Regions from separate parts of the Homo sapiens genome. Here all the other regions are linked to region 1. Evidence: promoter capture Hi-C in 16 types of primary human blood cells and fetal thymus (Javierre and others, 2016). All regions are on one chromosome and are shown on one strand. The core of a region is centred on a gene start or on the middle of the fragment in contact, and the rest is flanking DNA. Distances in the headings are between cores, read along the strand shown.

Region 1 (2,890 bases), core at 242-2,741:
AAATCAGGTGTTTGCAACTGCGTTTTATTGAAAGAAAGAGTGGAGGGGTTAACATGGGGCCCACCTCACAACCCACTCTTCACCCCCAAAATCACGCAGGGATGGGACTCAGGAAAGGGAAGCATGTGTGTGTTGAATAGGAGCCCTAACTGTAGTTACTTCTTTCACAGCAGGGAAGGAAGAGGGAAGAGGCAGCTGTGGAGAGGATGAGGTTGAGGGAGGTGGGGTATCTCGCTGCTCTGACCTTAGGTAGAGTCCTCCACAGAAGCATCAAAGTGGACTGGCACATATGGGCTCCCTTCACAGGCCACAATGATGTGTCTCTCCTTCGGGCTGGTCCGGTATGCACAGTTGGGGTACCTGGAGCCGTTTGTCAGGCGGCAGTCTGTGATGTGCATGCTGGAGTTGCTCTTGTAGCAGTTGCCCTGCCCGTTCTTGCAGGTGACCTTTTCCTGGAAACAGACATTCTGGACATCTACCAGGGGCTCGTGCACAAAGGTGTTCACTGGTTTGCACCGCCCCTGTGTCATATTCCGGCGCCTCATCATTTGGTTACAGTAGGTGGAGCTGCTGCTGGGGGAACTGTCTGAGTCCATATGCTGCCGCTGGAATTTCTTGGCCCGGGATTCCTTGCCCAGGGAAGGCTGGACCCAGCCCAGCACCAGCAGTATCAGGACAAGCAGAAGGAGCCGGACAAGAGACTTCTCCAGAGCCATGGTGGCCTCACTTTCCCAGAAAAGCCTAATTGAGAAAAGGAGAGAGAAGGAAAAGAGCCCTCTTAGAAAAAGAACTCCAGCTCCCACCTATGGCTTGCCTGGTTTACACTTTCTGTTTCAGGTCAGCCAGAAAGACGTCCATCCTACTTCCTGAGGTTTTTCGTGTAATGAGACACTCACGTGTACCCTTTTCCACGAGCGTTTTATTCCCACTCTCCAAAGCGAGGTCTTCCTCCCCTCTAGGTGGTGACCTACAAAGTGACCTAAAATCCTGTCAGTTCCTATCTTTGAATACTGGAGTTTCTTTGATCCAAAATACATTTGTACCCAGTGCTCAAATGGCTCATCGAAACATCAGTTTGAATAAATCATGAACCAAATTGTATCCCCGACATCCAGGGCCATGGGTGACAGAGCCTTGTTGTCTTGGAGCATAAGGGAACTCAGGCCAGTGCCTGACACTGGCATCATAAAAGATTCCATTGTATTCCAGAGAGAAACGCTGGCCTCCCCCAATTTGGAGGCTCCTTCTTCTCCAGTCCCATGGATGCTCTGCAGCCTGCACGTTCCACCCTGACCCCTCTGCCCCCAGCTGATGTTTGCCTGGGCCACATTTTTTCAGCGCTAGCATCACCCAATCTTTCTCAGTGCTGTGGACTGGCCCTAGCTCCCTCTTCTGCAACCCTGAAGCAGAAGCGGCACCTGAGAACACCTCTTGGGCTGCTTACCTGGATCTGCAGCTTGGTGTCTGAGAGAGATGGAAGGCCAGTTTCTGCAATCACTCAGCTCCCGGGGTGTGGACCTTATACAGATTACAAAGGGGTTTGGCTTCCAAGAGGAAAAGGGTGGGAGGAGCATCTGGAGCTCAGTTCAAATAAAATCAAGGACGTGAGGAAGGAGTGGTGAATCACCCAGGCCGCCGTCTTTCTAGGGCTGCTGAAGAAAGAGCAAATCTTTGCCTACGTTAGTCTTTCTTCCTATGTGAACCACATCTGTCTGCTGATGCACAAGGAGCAGCAGAGAAAGCCACTACAGCACTGGTGCCCAAACCTGGCACACTAGGAACAAAGTCCTTGTTACTTCTTCGTGGGCGTTTTCACCAAGTAGACTTGGAGGTTAACAAAGGACGCAAAGGAGAGGTTCTAATGGGAGATAGGGAATTCTGGCCAAAGCTATTCCAGGGCTCCTAGGGAGCAAAACCCAAGTCTCTTTCTAGGAGGGCATTCTCCCAACGCTACCTCTCCCGGGGATGGGAGGCGGGGTCGGGGGGAATGGAGGCTGTCCTGCTGCCCCCAGCTGGAAGGCTTCCCAGATCTGGAGAAGAAAGGGGGAGTAACTGAATAGGGAGGAGGAGGAGGCCTCTAGGGTGCGCTCACCCAGTTCTGGCCACTTCCCACCCACCCTCCACCCCTGCTCTGGGGGCATCGAGAGGATGGGGCTGTTCTTATCTACAGTAACCACTGACCCTGTAGGTCGGAATTGAGTAGAGGAACTAAAGATAAACTTAAATCCCAAATCTCAAATTCTTTTTGGGGAAAAAATACAAAGAATATCATATTTATTAGCAGCAGAATGCCCTCCTAGAAAGAGACCTGTTTTTTTGCTGAGTAACAATTTGGATACCTCTAAGAATTATCAAAATATCCCTTCGTGCTGTGTATTCAGATTGTTTCAGCCTTTCTGTGTAAAAAGTGGCCATAGTGAAATTATCTGACCTACCTTGTGTGATTGTAGGTCGTAAGATCCTCATTCCAGAGAGGGTCCTGCCCCCCATACCCAGAAAAAAAGGACGAATGCTCAGAGAGGCCAAGAAGAATCTAGACAGGGAGGCCTTGCTGGGTTTCCCCACTCAGTCTATTTTCATTAGATCGCCCTGTTGTCCAGTCATATTTCTACACAGCTGTTCATACTTTGTTGATATCCAAGTGTAAGAATGCCCACTTTCCCCTGTTATCTTTGGGTCTTCTGAAGGCTCCCGTGTCGTGTAAAACTACGATCAAATCAATTTGTATGCGTTTTTTCCTATCAATCTGTCTTTTGTCAGTTGATTTTCAGCAAACCTTTGGAGGGTGAAAGGGGAATTTTTCCTTGGCCCCTACAGTTTCCTTACTCCCCCAGCCCCCACCTGTATTTTATTTTTCTGAGTCTTTAATAATACTTTTATTCTCTTGAAT
Region 2 (2,890 bases), core at 150-2,649, 250 kb after region 1:
TGAAACAGTTAATGCTAAAGGAGGTTAGGATTTGTACGGCAAGGTTCGTAAATGTGATCCTGAGCAAACTCATATGGTCAAGATGAGTTCTAAAGGATGGATAATATTTGAGGGAGGACTTGCAGGGAAGAGGGAAACAGAAGCAAAGCTGAAGAGAGCAAAACATGTGCTGGAGACAAAAGGAAAATCAGGTTATTAGGATAGAATTTGGTTAGAATAGTTTGTGTTCGGAGGGAAGATAGGGAGGCCACTCATACGGAATGGGTAGACTGGACGCAAGGTGAGTAGGAGAAGGCTTTGATTCCAGGCTGGGAAGGCTGGATGTTACCTTGCAAGCAAGAGAACCACTGGAGATAAACAGATGATCTTTAGAGAAATGATGCAGGAAAAGGAATATTTTAACAAGATCCATCCAACATTATTATACATGCTCAATTAAACTCAGGAGAAAGGGTAGGCAAGGAGGCAGTTAGAAGGTGGTGAGAGTCATCCAGACAGGCAGTGGAAAGGGAGAGAAATACGTACAAGAGAACCAATAAGACTAAGTGACTCAAGTGCCCCTCCATACTTTGATCATGCTAAGTATTCAGTCTGTTAGCCTACTAATCGATATGGGGATGAAAGATTAGAAACAGTCAAAGGAGACCAGTATTTTCAACTGGAAGCGCCAAAAACAGAAACAGGGGCCTTACAAGGGGATAATCAGGTTTTGAGAAAAGTTGAATTCTCAGACAACAGAACTGGGTGCCTGATATAACTGGTAGGTAGTGAAGATTCATGTCACTGAAGGTATTCAAGCCCAAAAACCATCTGTTGGTAACGTTATTGCCAGGTGCATTGGCTCACACCTGTAATATCAGTACTTTGGGAGGCTGAGGCGAGTGGATCACTTGAGTCCAGGAGTTTGAGACCAGTGCTGGCAACGTGGCAAAACCCATCTCTACAAAAAATAGAAAAATTAGCCGCACTTTGGCCGGGCGCAGTGGCTGACACCTGTCATCCCAGCACTTGGGGAGGCCGAGGCAGGTGGCTCATGAGGTCAGGAGTTCGAGACCAGCCTGGCCAAGATGGTGAAACCCCAGCTCTACTAAAAAATACAAAAATTAGCCAGGCGCGGCAGTGGGTGTCTGTAATCCCAGCTACTCAAGAGGCTGAGGCAGGAGAATCGCTTGAACCCAGGAGGCAGAGTTTGCAGTGAGCCGAGATCTCGCCACTGCAGTCTAGCCTGGGCGGCAGAGCAAGACTCCGTCTCAGAAAAAAAAAGAAAAGAAAAAGAAAAATTAGCCACACGTGGTGGTGCAGGCCTGTAGTCCCAGCTACTCAGGAGGCTGACGTAGGAGGACCACCTGATCCCAGGATGTAGAAACTACAGGGAGCCATGATCGTGCCACTGCACTCCAGCCTGGGTGACAGAGCAAGACCCTGCCTTAAAAAAGAAAAAAAAAATACACTTCTGATCAGAGCAAGAGCTAAGATTCAATGAACTCGGAAGTGCCTTCCTGCTTTGATATTCTATGAAACTGGGTCCATGTAAGCTAGTGAAGAGCCTTGCCCAAGGTCATGCAGCTAATTAGTGAAAGAGGTGGGACCAGAATTCAGGGCTATTCATGTCTGGTTCAGTATTCTTACCACTAGACTATTTTAACTTTGATTGTAGTCTGAGTTGTACTCTCAGGGGTGACCAGAAACCCCATATAAAAACAAGATCAGTAAAAATTGGCTCTGAAATGAAACAAAGCTGCAGCACGGCCTGACACAGTGTACAGAGTGTAAATTTGAGGATCAGATCGAAGTGGCTCTGTCACTCACTCCTGTATGGCTGTGGGCAAGTTACTCAACTCCCACACACACAGACATTGTTTCCTTACCTACAAAATAAGCATAAATATTTCTATCTCATGGGGATGCTGCAAGATAAGTAAGGAGATGTTTTTAGATAGATTGATCACAAAAGAGATAATACACACACACACACACACACACACACACTGCTGAGTTCAGTGTCAAGAACATAGTAGACATTAGAGATGGCATTCAGTCTTCTTCTCTTGTGATCTGGTGGGAACAGGCATTGACCAATCAGAGCCAAGACTGGCTCATCTCCATACCAGTGCACACAAGGTGACTCTTAGCCCACAAGAGGAGGAAATGTTTAGGCCAGCCCTGGGCTCCTGCTGCCATCCCCACTCTGTCACTTCAAAGGCTGGCAGCTTGGGTCTGTAACTGTTAATGAATTATCAATAAACAGGAAAGCAGTGTGGCAAGGAAAGATAACATGAACTTTGGAGCCAAACAGAACCGAATTTCAAATCCCGGCCCTGCCACTTACTAAATCTGTGGATCTTAACCTGCCAGAACCTTAGTTTCCTTTTCTGTAAAATTGGGATAATATTGTGGAACACACAATACAGTTTATATATAAAGTTGTACACAAAGCACAATGCTTTGGCTCGTGAAGCACCTTTTAAAATGAGGTTCTTTACTTTCCACCAAGAACCTAGAACTGTACCGAGCACATTTTAGATGCTAATTAAATGATGCTTGGTAGCATCTCTTTCCTCCTGCTGCTGCTGTACAGCCCTGTGCTGACCTGAACCATAAGCAATGCGGTGTATGTTATCCTGGCTGCCTTTAGTAGGTAGTAAATAGTATACTCTATCCTACCATACTCCTAAGCATTTTACCACTCGCCACACTACTTTGAATATGTAAGATATATATTCCTCATTCAATATTGTTTCTGCAGAAATGTATCTGAAAAGATTTTTAAAGTTTTACTTTTGAAATTATTTGACTGCAAGTAAGTTGTGACTGGCACTGTTCCTTCTGCATTCAAGGTTTCCAGGTACTTAGGAATTCCTACAAAATTAGAAAACTAACCAAAGATTGT
Region 3 (2,890 bases), core at 391-2,890, 230 kb after region 1:
AATGCAGAGAAGAAAGAAGGAGCAGGCTGACCTGACAATTCTCTGGCAGCTGGGAGGAAGGACAGGAGCTGAAGATAGCTGGGTAGGGACGTGTATTCTTCTTGCCAAGGCCAAGACAGTCAAGAGATGAGGAGAGGCTAGAAAGGTTTCTAGGTAAAAATCAGTCTGGGAGGAGGGAATGTCCCCGAGTTTGATGAGCCCCTGTGCTAAGAGGGTTGGATGGGTGGGAGGAAAGAGGCATTACTATCTGGTCTCCTCCTCTACAGTGTCATTGGAACACTTACTTCCAATCTCCTTGCCAAAAGTTCCTAAGTGCCTGGGCTTTCTTTGATGTTTTCTCTGTTCCATAGCCTGTGCTCTCGTGGCAAGGTGAGTAGGAAAGCACTGTTATGTTTCTGAGGAACAAAGTGCTTCTTATTCCTGACCCTCAGAGAACAGAGCATTCGCCACTTTGTCATCCCACTCACGGGAGCCCAGGAGGGCATGTACTCAGGGGCCTCCCACCAAAGTGCTGGGCTGAGAATCAAAGACCTCCATGTGGACTCCCCACGGTCCCTATCAGCCTTACTCCTGTCACACCCACAGCCTTCACCTGTGACCTCAGGCCCTGTCAGAGTTTGAGCACTACTGGAAATCTCTGCATGCTGACTCTGAAGCCTCAAACTTGGCAGTTTGGATTTGAAAGCATAACCTGAACATGAAAAGCTGTGGATGCCAGAGCCTGGCATGATCCGTTTCGTACTGTTGGTTGATCTCTGAGTGGTTTGCCATGCTGGGGAAAGGGCCACGCTCCTATCTTTTTCATCAACATCTTCCCTTTCATCAGAATCAAAGAGCCAGCTCCCTGGAAACTGCTAGCTCTTGCCCTTGACTTCCACAGGTCACTCAGCCTTGTTAGTCTGCAAGGTGTCTTCCAGATTTGGGGCCTCCTCTTAGGAGAGCCTTTTTACCTTTGCTGGGCAGCAGAAAAGGGGAGTCAGAACACAGAAAGCTGAGTGCTCCAACACCCTCAGTATAGCTCAGGAGGAGGGAGTAAGGCCGCAGAGAGAAAGATTGGTGTTCCTCATGTAGAGCCCCCTAAACTGGCACTTTCTGACAGCACAAACCACAGTCCAAAATGGAATCCATCCTCCCCATAACTTGTTTCTCTTCCTGTTTTGTCAACTCAGTTTCCCTGGTTACCTATGCAAGAAACCTGAAAGTGATCCTAGACCCCTCCACCTCCCCAATCCCAGCTACGGGGAGGCGGTCCTGCATGGTGGTTAAGATCAAGGCTTTTGAGTGAAACAGACCAGGAATTGAATCCTGCCTCTGCAGCTTACAAACTGCACACCATCTATCTGTTTACGAAACCACTGAAAGCTTCCTTGTTTCATCTGTTCATGAGGATAGTATTTTTTACCTCACGGCAGTATGAGGATCCATTAAGATGTATATCAAGAGTTTTTAGACCAGTGCCCGGCACATGGTGAGTCCTCAGTATGAGCCTGAGTCCATCAGTCACACAGCCCTGACAATCTTAAACTTTTCCCAAGCCCATCTCTTCCATTCTTATTTCTTCCTCAGTGGATGCTCTCGTCTCGCCTGGACAGCACACACACTCCAACTCCAGTAAGACTCAACTCAAATATATCTCTTATACAACTTCAAGAGAAAAAGTGTGATCCCTTCTTTCGTCTAAAAGTCTGCAATAGCTTGTTTCTCATAGGGTAGGGGTGCCCAGTCTTTTGGCTTCCCTGGGCCACATTGGAAGAAGAATTGTCTTGGGCCGCACATAAAATACACTATCACTAACGATAGCTGATGAGCTTAAAACATGCAAAAAAATTCATAATGTTTTAAGAAAGTTTACGAATTTGTGTTGGGCTGCATTCAAAGCCATCCTGGGCCACATGTGACCCGCGGGCCATGGGTTGGACAAGCTTGTCGTAGGGTATAGTCCAAACTACATCTCACAGGACATAAGACTTCCCATGATCTTGCACCTGCCCATGTGTACAACTGCATCTGCATCCCTGCCTGCTTCCCACCTTGTCCCCCACCTCCTCTATGCCCTATCTGCTGCTGTCTCCTCTACCTGGAACCCTGCTGCTGCACCGTTCCTCGCCCCCATCTATTCCATGGTGCTAGCTCATAGAAAGACTCAACCCAGAGGTCCCACTTAGAAAGCCTCTGCTGGGAAGACCTCGCCAAGGAAGTGGGCACCGTCAAGCAAGTGAGGATAGAGCCCACATGGGCAGGTGGCTCATCTGTATTCTTCAGGCTGCTCAACAAGACAACACTGAGCGGGTGCCAATGCAGGGTGTCGCCTGAGCCTGGCTGACTCAGGCCTTTGCTTTGAGGAAGCCAACCACATTGTGGTCCCTGCCTTGAATCATGCCACCTCTTCCCTGGTCCCTCAAGGCTGCAGCTTCCCTGAGAATAGAAAGGGACTTTTTATACCTTTTGTTCTTCCTCTTCCTTCATTCCCCAGCCACCCATCACCGCTCTTCGCTCCCCCCACCCAACACCACTCACTTCTGCCGCACAATTACAGAAACTGAACAGCACATTATAGAGGAAAGCATTCAGGACTTAAATGATTTAATGATGATGAGCCTTCGGCTTCCCAACTGCAATCCTGGTGATCTGTTCCCTAAAATCCTGTCCTAGAGGTGCTGATGCATAAGATTACTTCATCCATTCTGACAACCTCATCATGGTGTCATGTGCTCCGTAAGCCTGAGATTAGTGGGATTGTTACCCCATTACACCGGGTTTTACATACACAAGCATTTCCCTAGGGATGAAAAACTAAGTTCTAGAGTGACAGTGGCTTGCTCAAGGTCATATGTCTAATTCAGTAGTTCCAGGGACAATTGGATAATGTCTGGAGACATTTTTGGTTGTC
Region 4 (2,890 bases), core at 16-2,515, 220 kb after region 1:
TATAACTAAGCCAGGGGATCAACGAGCTCGATTGGGCAGATAGCGGTGAGTCCAGGCATTCACCTAAAACGGTTCCACCCCGTCAGTGCCTATCTCTCCTCTAGTGCAGCAAGCTCTTGTCCCGATACTCACTGTAGCCCATGCCTTGCAGGAAGTACTTGAAGGCCTCGGTCAGCTTGCCTGGCTGCGGAAGTAAGAAGAGGCGAGGGAGACGGTGAGATGAGGTTAGAGGAAGAGCTGGAGCCTGAGGCTGCGGCACTGTGGGGCCGGGTGTGTGGCAAAGGGCAGAGCCCAGTGCCACCGGTATCCTATGTCCCTTCCCCATCCCATGGACGGCAGCGGCACTCACCTGAGTCAGCTGGGGCTGACCTCCGGAGTCAGCCATCTGTTCAGGAGAGCACCACCCAGAAAAAGTGAAACACACATAAATGAGCCATGCAGAGAGGTGGAAAGGGTCTCTCTTCCCTAGCTTCTTCACTCTAGCCCCTTTGTTTTGTTCTTCGTTCACCCCATTTGCTCCCATGCCGGGCCCTGGAGGCTTAGCAGCTGCATGTAGAGAGGATATATGACTGTGGACGGGGGCCCAGGAACAGGTTACTGACCTTGAGGAACGAGGTCTGGGTGGGGTCCAGTTTTGAGTTACATTCCACCTGGAGTAAGCAGGAGGCTGAATGAATGAGGTCACGCCCACTGTGGCGCCTCCCCCGTAAGGGACCCAGGAACCCAGACCCCAGTCCCTTTTCTATCAGCTCCCTACCCAGTTCCTCCTTACCAGGAATCAAATTCTTAGTGCCCCAAAGTTGATCTCCCTGTGCCAAACAGGACATCCCCTTGGCAAGATACTCTTCTGACCACCACTTTAGGACCCCAACCCTCCTCCCTCACTCACCCCAAAATTCCCTACTAACCACTGCATCTTCATGAGGTGCTTGGTCTCCTACCACCAGCATCACAGGACACCTAAAGACACAGTGTTGGGGAGAAGGCAGTGAGCCCCTGGCACTCCCTCACTGGCCTCTGCCTAGGAGTGCAGCTGGAAAAATATCTGGCTCCAAAGAGGAAAGACACTTCTGTGTCTCCCTGCTGATGCCACCAAGAGGATTCAAAGGGGGAAGACCTAGAGGGAAGTGATTTACCAAATAGGATGGGGTGGGACATGACAAGGAAGTTCCCTGGCAAAAGATTCTCCTTCTTCTAAGGGACACAAGCTCCTAGGGAAGATCCAGGGAGACAGGCAATGCATTATCTCTTAAAGTCTTACCTGAGGGTGATATCACCTCCACGCTCAAAGTTCAGGTCTCGGCGGCTAGAAAGGGGTTAAAAGAGTAGGAATTTTAGGTGGGCAATGCTATCTAACCAGATATAAGCTATCTCTCCCATGATGGAACTATCTTTGTCTAAAAATTACGGTCAAATCTTGGTTATTAAAGGTGGAAACCAAAGGAGAAAGGGGCAGGCAGGCCCCAAGCACAGCCCCTATAGTCACTTGTGCCCTAGATCCCTGGTCAGAGGGCAACAAAAGGGGAGGAAGGACACAGGACACAAGATCATCTTACTTCTGGGAGTCCAATAATCCAAAGGAGGTAAACAAGAGAAGGGGGACAGCCCCTTGCAATCCTTCCCACTGACTCTGTCCTGAAGCTGCCCCCATTGCACACTAAATGCTGCATTCCTTGCACATTGCACACTACCCAGACTTCCCTCTCCTCCTCTGTGCCTCCCCCATGACGCCCAATTACTGCTTCTGCATTTCTCTCACATGCATACACACACAGCCCACCCACTTGTTGTAGCTGTTCCAGTACAATTCAATGTTATCCAGGTTGGGTGCATGTGTAATGATATTTCTGTACTTTTGTATCAACTCAGAATTTCCAGAGAGCTCTTCCTGAAGGAGAGAACAAGGAGAAAAATTAGGGATGGAAAGAGAAAACAACAATTACTGGAGGAAAAGAGGTAAGCCTTCTTCCTTCCCCAAATCCTGTCCCAGCTAAGGAAGTTAGCCCAAGCATTCAAGTTCCCTGCTGCTCCCGTCGACTCTTCTACATCTCCTACACCCACTTACCTGGCTGAAAAGATGTCCAAGGATCATCTCCGGAATGGAAGAGGTGAGGCCTGTTAGCTATGAGGAGAAGGCAGGTGAGAAAGTTCAGGGTATTGGCCAGGCACAGTGGCTCACGTCTGTAATCCCAGCACTTTGGGAGGCCGAGGCGGGTGGATCACGAGGTCAGGAGTTCAAGACCACCCTGGCCAAGATGGTGAAACCCCATCTCTACTAATAATACAAATATTAGCCAGGCGTGGTGGCGGGTGCCTGTAATCCCAGCTACTTGGGAGGCTGAGGCAGGAGAATCACTTGAACCCAGGAAGCAGAGGTTGCAGTGAGCCAAGATCAAGCCACTGCACTCCAGCCTTGGCAACAGAGTGAGACACCATCTCAAAAAAAAAAAAAAAAAGAAAAAGAAAAAGAAAGTTCAGGATATTATAAGAGACTCAGGCAAAGTGACAGCTTCACTTTCCTGCCCCTTTACTCCCTCCTTGAAGTTCAGAGTCCATCCAGTTAGGCTATCTACCAGAGCCTAACTGGATCCATACGAGGGGATCCCCAACCGTAGGTCTCAGCACACAGGCCCCTCCAAACCTTGTGGGCTGCCCAATCCATCCAACCCTTGGCATTGGGATCAATGTTGATGAGGACAAGACCTTCAACAGTGTCCGGGTGGTTAAGCTGAGGGACAGCAGAAGGAAGGAAATGAGAAACAGGGCATGGCCTTATCCCCTCCCCGCTAAGCTCGACCCACTCCTGGACTCCCACAGGGCCTGACTCCCCACCTAGTGCCCACTTCCTCCCCCAAACAGCACTAATAAACAGTATTCTCCTAATCAGTCT
Region 5 (2,890 bases), core at 210-2,709, 190 kb after region 1:
GGCAGAAAAACTACTGAAAGGTGAGTGCAAGAGCACTTCCAAAGTTGAGGGAGTTAAGAAAGCAAAGGGGTACTAGTAAAAGTGTTTTACTGGGAAGTAGAGAAGAGGGTAAAAATTAAGATGAATCTGGTTTACTTTTAAAGTTATAGTCAAGCAAAGGGTGGTATTAGAGGTTTCTGCTGGACTGAGGATGGGTTGGGTAAGAATCAAAGGACAGGAGGCCTAATATTCTCCCTGCCCTTTTTTTTTTTTTTTTAATTAGAGGTAGGGTCTCCATATGTTACCCAGGCTGGTCTCAAACTCCTGGCCTCAAGCCATCCTCCCACTTCAGCCTCTAGGGTAGCTGGGATTACAGGCACGCACCGCCATACCTGGCTCATCCCTGCCCTTTTTGATATACACTTTACCTATTCTTGGGGCCATGTTTCTTATCTGGATATCTCTTCAGTTTATACCTAACTTCCTACACACTCACAGTTGCCTCTTCTTTTCTCCACAGGTGGTTCAGAATCTGGGGAGCCTTATATTCCAGGTGTCTTTTTCAGACAGTTTCTACCTGTATCACCCAAGGCAAGTGGCAGTGTTTAGAATATTCTAAATGTGGAATGTGGCAGATGGAAAACTATGGCTTGAGCTTTGCAGCCCAGCACTGAGTGTTAGAAGATAAAAGAAATTTAGCGGCTAGGACTTTGTTGTATTCTTGGGATGTAGAGATGTTGAGTCTGTCATGTTCCTTGTCTTGGTCCTCAGGTGCAGTTTGATGTAGTAGTGTCAGCTTTTTCCTTAAGTGAACTGCCCAGCAAGGCTGACCGCACTGAGGTAGTTCAAACCTTATGGCGTAAGACAGGTCATTTCCTGGTGAGTTAAAATTCCTTGTTCTCCTTAAGTCTTGAAGCAGCTTCATGGATTTCATGCCTTTGCTCCTCTCATTGTCTTTATTCTTCACCATTTTTCTCCTTCATGGGTTTCTTTATCCCTCTTTGAGGGTCTCCATCCTGATTATGTAATGCCTATTTCTTTTTAGGACTCCTTCTCCCTCTATGATTGCTCTTACACAGCTACTGACATTTATACTTTCGTGTAATTCAAGTCTTCTGCATATTTTCCCCTTTTGTGAACAGGTACTGGTGGAGAATGGAACAAAAGCTGGGCACAGCCTTCTCATGGATGCCAGGGATCTGGTCCTTAAGGTAAGGCTTCTTCTTCCCTCACTCCCCCACCCATATGGCACCAATTACTGTTACTCTCTTGAAAACGAAAGAGACTGTCATGTATTGACAAGGGTGGCTCTCAGGAAACTGGGCGTATGAAGTCATTATGATACAGAGCAGTGGTTGGCAAATGAGAGCCTGTGGATCAAATCCGACCTGCCACCTGTTTTTATATAAGCCATGCTTATTTGTGCCTCTGTTGTCTGTGACTGCTTTCACACTACAAACAGCAGAGTTGAGTAGTTGGGACAGAGATAGATTTTGCCTACTCTCTGGCCCTTTAAAAGAAACTTTGCGGACTCCTAATCTAGGGCATTGCTGAGCTAAGAACCTTGTCACTGGGGGAGAGTATGAGCCAGTGTATAATCATAAATTTAATTGTCCTGGAGTGGGATTTTTTTGAGAGTGGAGGTTGCTGACAAGGGAGAGCACCGTACTATGTGCCAAGTTCTTGCCTTTCTCCTGCAGCAAAGAGAAAGTTCTTTGTTTGGAGTATTAAAGATGCAGCCAGCTTAATTCAAAGGACATAGTCAATCGTTATTAGAATTGAGTGTTAAAGGAGTCCTCAGTTTACTGAGTGCAGAGATTGAATTATGAAAATAGACCCTTGGCCCAGCTTTATTTCTTTTATTTCCTTTGATTTCAGGGAAAAGAGAAGTCACCTTTGGACCCTCGACCTGGTTTTGTCTTTGCCCCGGTGAGTATTACTTCTGCCTGTCCCACCACACGGATCTGAACTTAGGCGTGGCCGGGAAATGTAAGATGGTAAAGCTAAGCCACTCTCCACTACTTTGTGTTCCTATCCAGTTCCTACCTAATGATTCCCCTGGCTCTTCCTACCCACTGCTCCTGTCCTCCCTTCTCCCTGGCCCCTTTTGACTCTATTATTCTCAGTTTTTAAGTTTTGTGATTGATGGCTCTTTTGTCTTACCTCATTTTTTTATGTGTTCACAGTGTCCCCATGAACTCCCTTGTCCCCAGTTGACCAACCTGGCCTGTAGCTTCTCACAGGCGTACCATCCCATCCCCTTCAGCTGGGTAGGTACCTGGGGATATTGCAGCAGGAAGCAAACATCCTGGAAAAACAGGAAGAAAAAGAATCAGAGTTAGGAGGAGTTGGATAATTTGTAGAATAGCCTGGAGACTTTAGGGCCTACATGTATATGATTTATACATTGTAAAAAAGGACTGCAGGAATGGGGAAGAAGGGACTGTACAAACTTTTTTCCCATATCTTTTTCTTCTAAACAGTCTCTATGTTCCTTATCTTAGAACAAGAAACCAAAGGAAGAAAAGTTCTCTATGGTGATCCTTGCTCGGGGGTCTCCAGAGGAGGCTCATCGCTGGCCCCGTATCACTCAGCCTGTCCTTAAACGGCCTCGCCATGTGCATTGTCACTTGTGCTGTCCAGATGGGCACATGCAGCATGCTGTGCTCACAGCCCGCCGGCACGGCAGGTATGGGGGGTGTGACCAAAATCAGTGGGATGTGGCAGGAAGCTGCAGCCCACGCCAGCATCTGTTTCCACAGGGATTTGTATCGTTGTGCCCGTGTCAGCTCCTGGGGAGATCTTTTACCTGTGCTTACTCCGTCTGCGTTTCCTCCATCTACGGCTCAGGATCCCTCTGAGAGTTGATGAGGATGTGTAACAAGTATTTTCTTCTATCGTGCCTGCCAGG
Region 6 (2,890 bases), core at 181-2,680, 180 kb before region 1:
AGTCTTGCTCTGTCGCCCAGGCTGGAGTGCGGTGGTGTGATCTCAGCTCACTGCAACCTCTGCCTCGCGGGTTCAAGCGATTCTCCTGCCTCAGCCTCCCAAGTAGCTGGGATTACAGGTGTGTGCCACCACGCCTGGCTAAATTTTTTTGTATTTTTAGTAGAGACAGGTTTCACCATGTTGGTCAGGCTGGTCTCGAACTCCTGACCTCATGATTCGCCCTCCTCAGCCTCCCAAAGCGCTGGGATTACAGGCGTGAGCCACTGCATAGAAAACTTCTAAGTACAATCACAGTACTTTGCTTTACTGTGATGGTCAATGTGATAACCATATGAAACCATATCAGAGCTAAGTAAGTCGGGTTCAATAAATGCTGAAAGCATTGACTATCTGATGGAGTCATCAAAAATATTATTTAATTTAAATATAGTATTTAATTTTGAGCAAGATTTTACAGCACATAGAGGGGTCCTCAGGCCAATAGGGGGATGGCTTTTTTTTTTTTTTTTTTTTTTGAGACAGAGTTTCACTCTTATTGTCCAAGCTGGAGTGCAATGGCACGATCTCAGCTCACCACAACCTCCGCCTCCCAGGTTCAAGCAATGCTCCTGCCTCAGCCTCCCAAGTAGCTGAGATTACAGGCGCACAACACCACGCCCGGCTAATTTTTGTATGTTTAGTAGAGACGGGGTTTCACCATGTTGGTTAGGCTGGTCTTGAACTCCTGACCTCGTGATCCGCCCGCCTAGGCCTCCCAAAGTGCTGGGATTACAGGCATGAGCCACCATGCCCAGACTGGGGCATGGCTCTCTATTGGAGCTAGGAACAGAGCTTTACATTGCAATGTAGTGCGTGTCTTCTGCTGCAGACTGATCCAGAAAGATTCTGGTGGGAATTTTCAGATGCTCTAAATGAACATAGAACATCTGATACAGAAGTTGGTACATAGAGTATTTCTCAAAATTTAATGCATACTCTAACTTTTGGGGAGTTTGTTAAGATTCTGATTCAGTAGGCCTGAGATTCTGCATTTCTAATCTGCTACCAAAAGATGCTGATGCTGCTGGTCCCCAATCACACTTTGCATATTAAGGCCTTAAAGTAAATCTCTTGCTTATCTATAAATTTTCATCATCTGAACTATTAACAAGGTATGGATAGCAAGAAATTCAAGGTTAAACTCTCCGACAATATTACAGAATGCTAGAGCCTAGAATATCAGCATTCTGTGCTGAAGACTGAAGGAATAGACATGTGCCAGCCAGACGAACACATTGCATGTATTTGTATCAGGCATCTTTCCAAAAGGGTGGTTATCTATTTGCTTTAGATATTGGGCAATCAAGTATGCAGCAAATTTGGCATTCTACTAGGAAAGCCAAGACACCTGGCTTATGGGTCTCAGGGCACTTACTGTTTGAGCTGTGCAATCCAACATGTGATCCACTTCTTGAAAGGAACAGGCCAAGTTTCCTCCCTCCCTACTGAAGGATCCTGTGAGCACAAGGTGGGAAATAGGTACTCCAGCAACACTGAATAGGAAATTGAATAGGAGAAGCTATGCCCACTTGTTAGCAAAGGAACTTCAGCCAGGAACAGGAGAGTGTGGTACTTTCTTGATAAGAAAGTGCTCTGACGCCTGTCAGTTTGAGGAATTTGAACCTGCAGCATTCCAGGATCAAAGAGGGCTCTGCTGTGATGATAGGTTCTTTCCTGTTGACTGCTTCCTTTTATTGCCTGATCTGGCACTAAAACAGATCAAAATGAGCTCAGGCCACTTCCATCACTTGAGAATCTTCATATTTAAAAAAAAAAAGTCAACACATAGAGAAACTATGGGTTATTTAAATGAGTATTATGATTTTTTTTGTTTATTTGTTTTTGTTTTTGTTTTTAAATGGAATCTCTGTTGCCCAGGCTGGAGTGCAGTGGTGCGATCTCGGCTCACTGCAACCTCCATCTCCTGGGTTCAAGCGATTCTCCTGCCTCAGCCTCCTGAGTAGCTGGGATTACAGGCACATGCCACCATGCCCGGCTAATTTTTGTATTTTTAGTAGAGACGGGGTTTTGACATGTTGTCCAGGCTGGTCTCGAATTCCTGACCTCAAGCAATGTGCCTGCTTCAGTCTCCCAAAATGCCGAGATTACAGGCGTGAGCCACCACACCTGGCCAAATGAGTATTGTCTTCGTTCGTTTTGTGTTGCTGTAATAGAATACATGAGGCTGAGTAATTTAGAAAGAAAGAGGTTTATTTAGCTCACAGTTCTGCAGCCTGGGAAGTAGGAGAAGCATGTTACCAGCATCAGCCAGGCTTCTGGGGAGGGCCACTACACTAGGTCAAAACAAGGCAGAGAAGGTCAAAGGGGAAGCAGACACATACAAAGAGAAAAAAAGAAAAAAAAAAGTGAGGGCCTCTTGGCTGTATAACAACCCACTCTCCCAGGGAACTAATCCATTCCCAAAGGAAGTAATCCAATCTCACCAGAGCCAGAACTCACACACTACAGAGAGAAGGGCACCAAGACATTCATAAGGAATTTACTACTGTGATCCAAACACCTCCCACTAGGCCCCATCTCCCAACACTGACACATTGGAAATCAAATTTCGACATGAGTTCTAGTGGGGACAAATTAACCATATTCAAACCATAGCAGGTATGTTTATCAGACTAGCACTGAAACACAGAGACATAAATGTGACTGTAAAATCTCATCTGGAGAGCTCATCAAAAGTTTCAATATGAGACCCATTCATGTGCCCTAAGTCTCTTATTGGCTCAATTCTAGGTATAATAGCTCAACAGATATTTTAAATATTTGTTATCTCCCCTCCCATTCACCCTGCACAGCTCTTTCAAGTCGTAAAGAGCCCCAGGATCTTTCTTTT
Region 7 (2,890 bases), core at 273-2,772, 170 kb after region 1:
GGGGCATCCCAGAGACCATCACGCAGCCTCGACATGACTGCCTGCATTGAGGAACCAGGACTGATCTCACAACGCTTTTCGTCCCTATTCCTGTCACAAGAAGCCCCATTCTCAGGTCATCCTCATCAAAAAGGAGGGAATTATCCACTGTGCCTAATACTGCTGAGTGGAATATTAATCTGTTGGGGTGGGAGGTGTTACTTCCAATGCAAGGAGTGCCCCCACAACCCTCATAACTCCTACTGATGGAGCTGAGGAGTCCATTGAGAAGATTTTTTTTTTTCCGAGATGGAGTCTCGATTTGTCGCCCAGGTTGGAGTGCAATGGCGCAATCTCAGCTCACTGCAACCTCTGCCTCTCAGGTTCAAGTGATTCTCCTGCCTCAGCCTCCCCAGTATCTGGGATTACAGGTGTGTGCCACCATGCCTGGCTAATTTTTGTACTTTTAGTAGAGACGGGGTTTCACCGTGTTGGCCAGGCTGATCTCCAACTGCTGACCTCAAGTGATCCACCCGCCTCGGCCTCCCAAAGTGCTGGGATTATAGGCATGAACCAACATGCCCAGCCTGAGAAGGTTTTCTAAGTGCTGGGCCTTAGAAGAAGAGAATCTTGTCCAGGAGATGATTAGAAAGAGGGTCCACATATGAGCTGTGTTATTTGTTCTAGAGGAGGGAGTGAAGCGATGGAGAGGAGAGCATCTACATCCTTCAGATGAAAGGAAGCTCCCTTCCCCTGATCCCAGACCCCAGATCCTCAGGATTTCACATTCTCCCCATCTCTCCTCACTCCTCCAAGTACTCACCTGAGGAACTCACTCTGTCACATCCTTCTTCCTCTGACGCACCCAACACCATTGCCTCCCCGCTCTACCCTGAGTCTGCACATTCTCCTGAAGAGCTCCACAGCTTACACACAGACACACCTCATTTTTTTAACTGCCACATAGTACTAAGGGAATCCCAATAGTAAGGAATTATATGTTTAATTCCCAGTTCTAGCACTAATTTTCTATGAGGACTACCATTCTGGTCCTCAGCTATGAAATGTAGCTTGGAATAAAGGACCTCACAAATTCCTTCTAGCTCGGACTCTTGTAGTTCTTTGAAGCCCTCATAAGGAGTGTGTGTGTGTGTGTGTGTGTGTGTGTGTGTGTGTGTGTGTGTGTAGAGGAATGTCTACGGAAAATGCAATCTACATTTCTGAAATTTTTTACTATGTAGATCTGTTTTTCTTAAAATACTATACCTAAATCCAGAAAAAAATCACCTGATTAACTAAAATAAAATTATTGTCCTATATATACATGTATGTATGTATGTTATTATTGCTGTTGTTGCTACCTTAAGACTATCAAGAAAAACATTTAACTATTACATTGCAGTCAACACAGAAATCCCTATTTCTTTTCCCTTCTTCAATAGAGCAAGAGAAAATGTTAGCACAGAAGACAGTAAGATGATCTTACACCTCTGAGATTATTTAGGTTTGAGGTTAGTACACTGGGGGATATCAATCAGCAAACAGTAATGTAGTCATTCCCATCCTTAGCTGTCTCTATCAGCTTCACCTACCTCATCTAATAGGAAAACAGGAGACCTAAAAGTCATTAAACCTAAGAGGAAACTTTGATGAGTGCTTTACTGCCTAAAATATCTCAGCATCATTCAAAATGTTTATCCCTCATGGTTTTGCAAGGAGTGTTGGAAATAAGGAAGCCACTCCCTCTTTGGCACACCTATTTCACATAAGGTAATTGGGATTAAGCCTCACAACATGGTCCAGTAGGTAACACTCTACATACTTTTCTAGAGCTGATACAGGCTTTCGTCTGTGTCCACGATCTAAGGTCACCCACCATCAGGCTTATGTTTGCGTATCATGCAGGGTTTTAATGTTTCCCTTGTAGAAAAGAGAAAACGCCAGGCGTGGTGGCTCACGCCTGTAATCCCAGTACTTTGGGAGAACGAGGCGGGTGGATCACCTGAGGTCAGGAGTTTGAGACCAGCCTGGCCAACCTGGTGAAACCCCGTCTCTACTAAAAATACAAAAATTAGCTGGGTGTGTGGTGGTGGGTGCCTGTAATCCCAGCTACTCGGGAGGCTGAGGCAGGAGAATCATTTGAACCCAGGAGGCAGAGGTTGCAGTGAGCAGAGATCGCCCCATTGCACTCCAGCCTGGGTGACAGAGCGAGACTCCATCTCAAAAAAAAAAGAAAGAAAAGAAAAAAAAAAGAAAAGAGAAAACAAGGGCTGAGTCTGAGATCACAAGGTTGGTGAATAGCAGAGCTGTGAGTCAGACTCTGATATGTTTTTTTTTTTTTTTTTTTTGAAACGAGGTCGTGCTCTGTCACCCAGGCTGGAGTGCAGTAGTGGGATCATAGCTCACTGCAGCCTCAACCTCCCGGGCTCAAACAATTCTTCATTTAACCACAGATTTGATGTACTGATTATTCATTTACATTAAAATAAATATATAACAACGAACACTTTAAATGTGTATCTGCATACCCTAACATCGGCTATCTCACTTACCATCAGCTGTACATGCTTCATTTTTTCACATACAGCTTTATCTTGAACTTTAACTTAAAAAATTCCACCTGGAAAATGCTTTCACAGTAAAAGACCCAAGGACAGTATAAAAAAATGAATCCCAAGGCCAAAGATTTGGTCATATTTATCCAATTCTGTTCAAAAGAGAGGCTGAACAGGCAGGCTCTATATACTCATCATTGTGAAAATGACAAAATTGTTTACTAGGACAGTTCCTCATATTTTTCATGGAGTTAACAAAAAAAGTAATTCTTGTTTTTTCTTTTTGCTCTGATTCCTTGAATAAAGTAGTATATTAAAATGTGATTTTCAGCAGGGCATGGTGGCTCGTGCCTGTA

The links. Contacts are between HindIII fragments. The CHiCAGO score rates a contact against its expected background, and 5 or more counts as called.
Region 2: a contact is called between a fragment that was not itself captured here and the fragment with the promoter of RNASE1 in region 1, in 1 of 17 cell types (M1 macrophages). The highest score is 5.0, in M1 macrophages.
Region 3: a fragment that was not itself captured here is called in contact with the fragment with the promoter of RNASE1 in region 1 in 2 of 17 cell types (M0 macrophages and M1 macrophages); the score reaches 6.2 in M0 macrophages.
Region 4: a fragment that was not itself captured here is called in contact with the fragment with the promoter of RNASE1 in region 1 in 1 of 17 cell types (M2 macrophages); the score reaches 7.5 in M2 macrophages.
Region 5: a fragment that was not itself captured here is called in contact with the fragment with the promoter of RNASE1 in region 1 in 2 of 17 cell types (monocytes and M2 macrophages); the score reaches 5.9 in monocytes.
Region 6: a contact is called between a fragment that was not itself captured here and the fragment with the promoter of RNASE1 in region 1, in 1 of 17 cell types (M2 macrophages). The highest score is 6.7, in M2 macrophages.
Region 7: a contact is called between a fragment that was not itself captured here and the fragment with the promoter of RNASE1 in region 1, in 7 of 17 cell types (erythroblasts, M2 macrophages, monocytes and 4 more). The highest score is 8.2, in erythroblasts.

The regions. Positions count from the first base shown.
Region 1 is chr14:20,801,353-20,804,242 of GRCh38, forward strand. It overlaps RNASE1 (ribonuclease A family member 1, pancreatic), which reads right to left and starts at 1,492. Exons shown (of 2, transcript NM_002933.5): 1 at 1,445-1,492; 2 at 1-741. The coding sequence starts at 716. The coding sequence ends at 246. All of the region lies in intron 3 of LOC105370397 (a long non-coding RNA gene), which reads left to right. The HindIII fragment of the contact is 7,079 bases long and covers 1-2,890 here.
Region 2 is chr14:21,052,375-21,055,264 of GRCh38, forward strand. It overlaps a transcript of NDRG2 not described here. Among named protein-coding and RNA genes, the nearest start is that of RNASE8, 4.0 kb to the right of the region's middle. The HindIII fragment of the contact is 3,933 bases long and covers 1-2,890 here.
Region 3 is chr14:21,034,625-21,037,514 of GRCh38, forward strand. RNASE13 (ribonuclease A family member 13 (inactive)) reads right to left here and starts at 183. Exons shown (of 2, transcript NM_001012264.4): 1 at 32-183. It also overlaps a transcript of NDRG2 not described here and a transcript of TPPP2 not described here. The HindIII fragment of the contact is 560 bases long and covers 1,361-1,920 here.
Region 4 is chr14:21,017,855-21,020,744 of GRCh38, forward strand. NDRG2 (NDRG family member 2) reads right to left here. Exons shown (of 16, transcript NM_001320329.2): 8 at 2,642-2,728; 9 at 2,066-2,122; 10 at 1,785-1,888; 11 at 1,262-1,306; 12 at 909-960; 13 at 603-650; 14 at 350-385; 15 at 133-184. Among named protein-coding and RNA genes, the nearest start is that of MIR6717, 4.1 kb to the right of the region's middle. RefSeq lists an enhancer at 1,661-2,860. The HindIII fragment of the contact is 4,424 bases long and covers 1-2,890 here.
Region 5 is chr14:20,994,044-20,996,933 of GRCh38, forward strand. It overlaps METTL17 (methyltransferase like 17), which reads left to right. Exons shown (of 14, transcript NM_022734.3): 7 at 1-20; 8 at 500-570; 9 at 751-858; 10 at 1,122-1,190; 11 at 1,858-1,908; 12 at 2,166-2,249; 13 at 2,484-2,668; 14 at 2,742-2,890. The coding sequence ends at 2,847. LOC101929718 (a long non-coding RNA gene) reads right to left here. Exons shown (of 4, transcript NR_110139.1): 3 at 2,789-2,890; 4 at 1,794-2,287. Among named protein-coding and RNA genes, the nearest start is that of SLC39A2, 3.8 kb to the right of the region's middle. RefSeq lists an enhancer at 2,086-2,890. The HindIII fragment of the contact is 5,148 bases long and covers 1-2,890 here.
Region 6 is chr14:20,619,600-20,622,489 of GRCh38, forward strand. No RefSeq gene overlaps it. Among named protein-coding and RNA genes, the nearest start is that of TRL-TAG2-1, 4.3 kb to the right of the region's middle. The HindIII fragment of the contact is 3,271 bases long and covers 1-2,890 here.
Region 7 is chr14:20,972,839-20,975,728 of GRCh38, forward strand. No RefSeq gene overlaps it. Among named protein-coding and RNA genes, the nearest start is that of METTL17, 16 kb to the right of the region's middle. The HindIII fragment of the contact is 5,961 bases long and covers 1-2,890 here.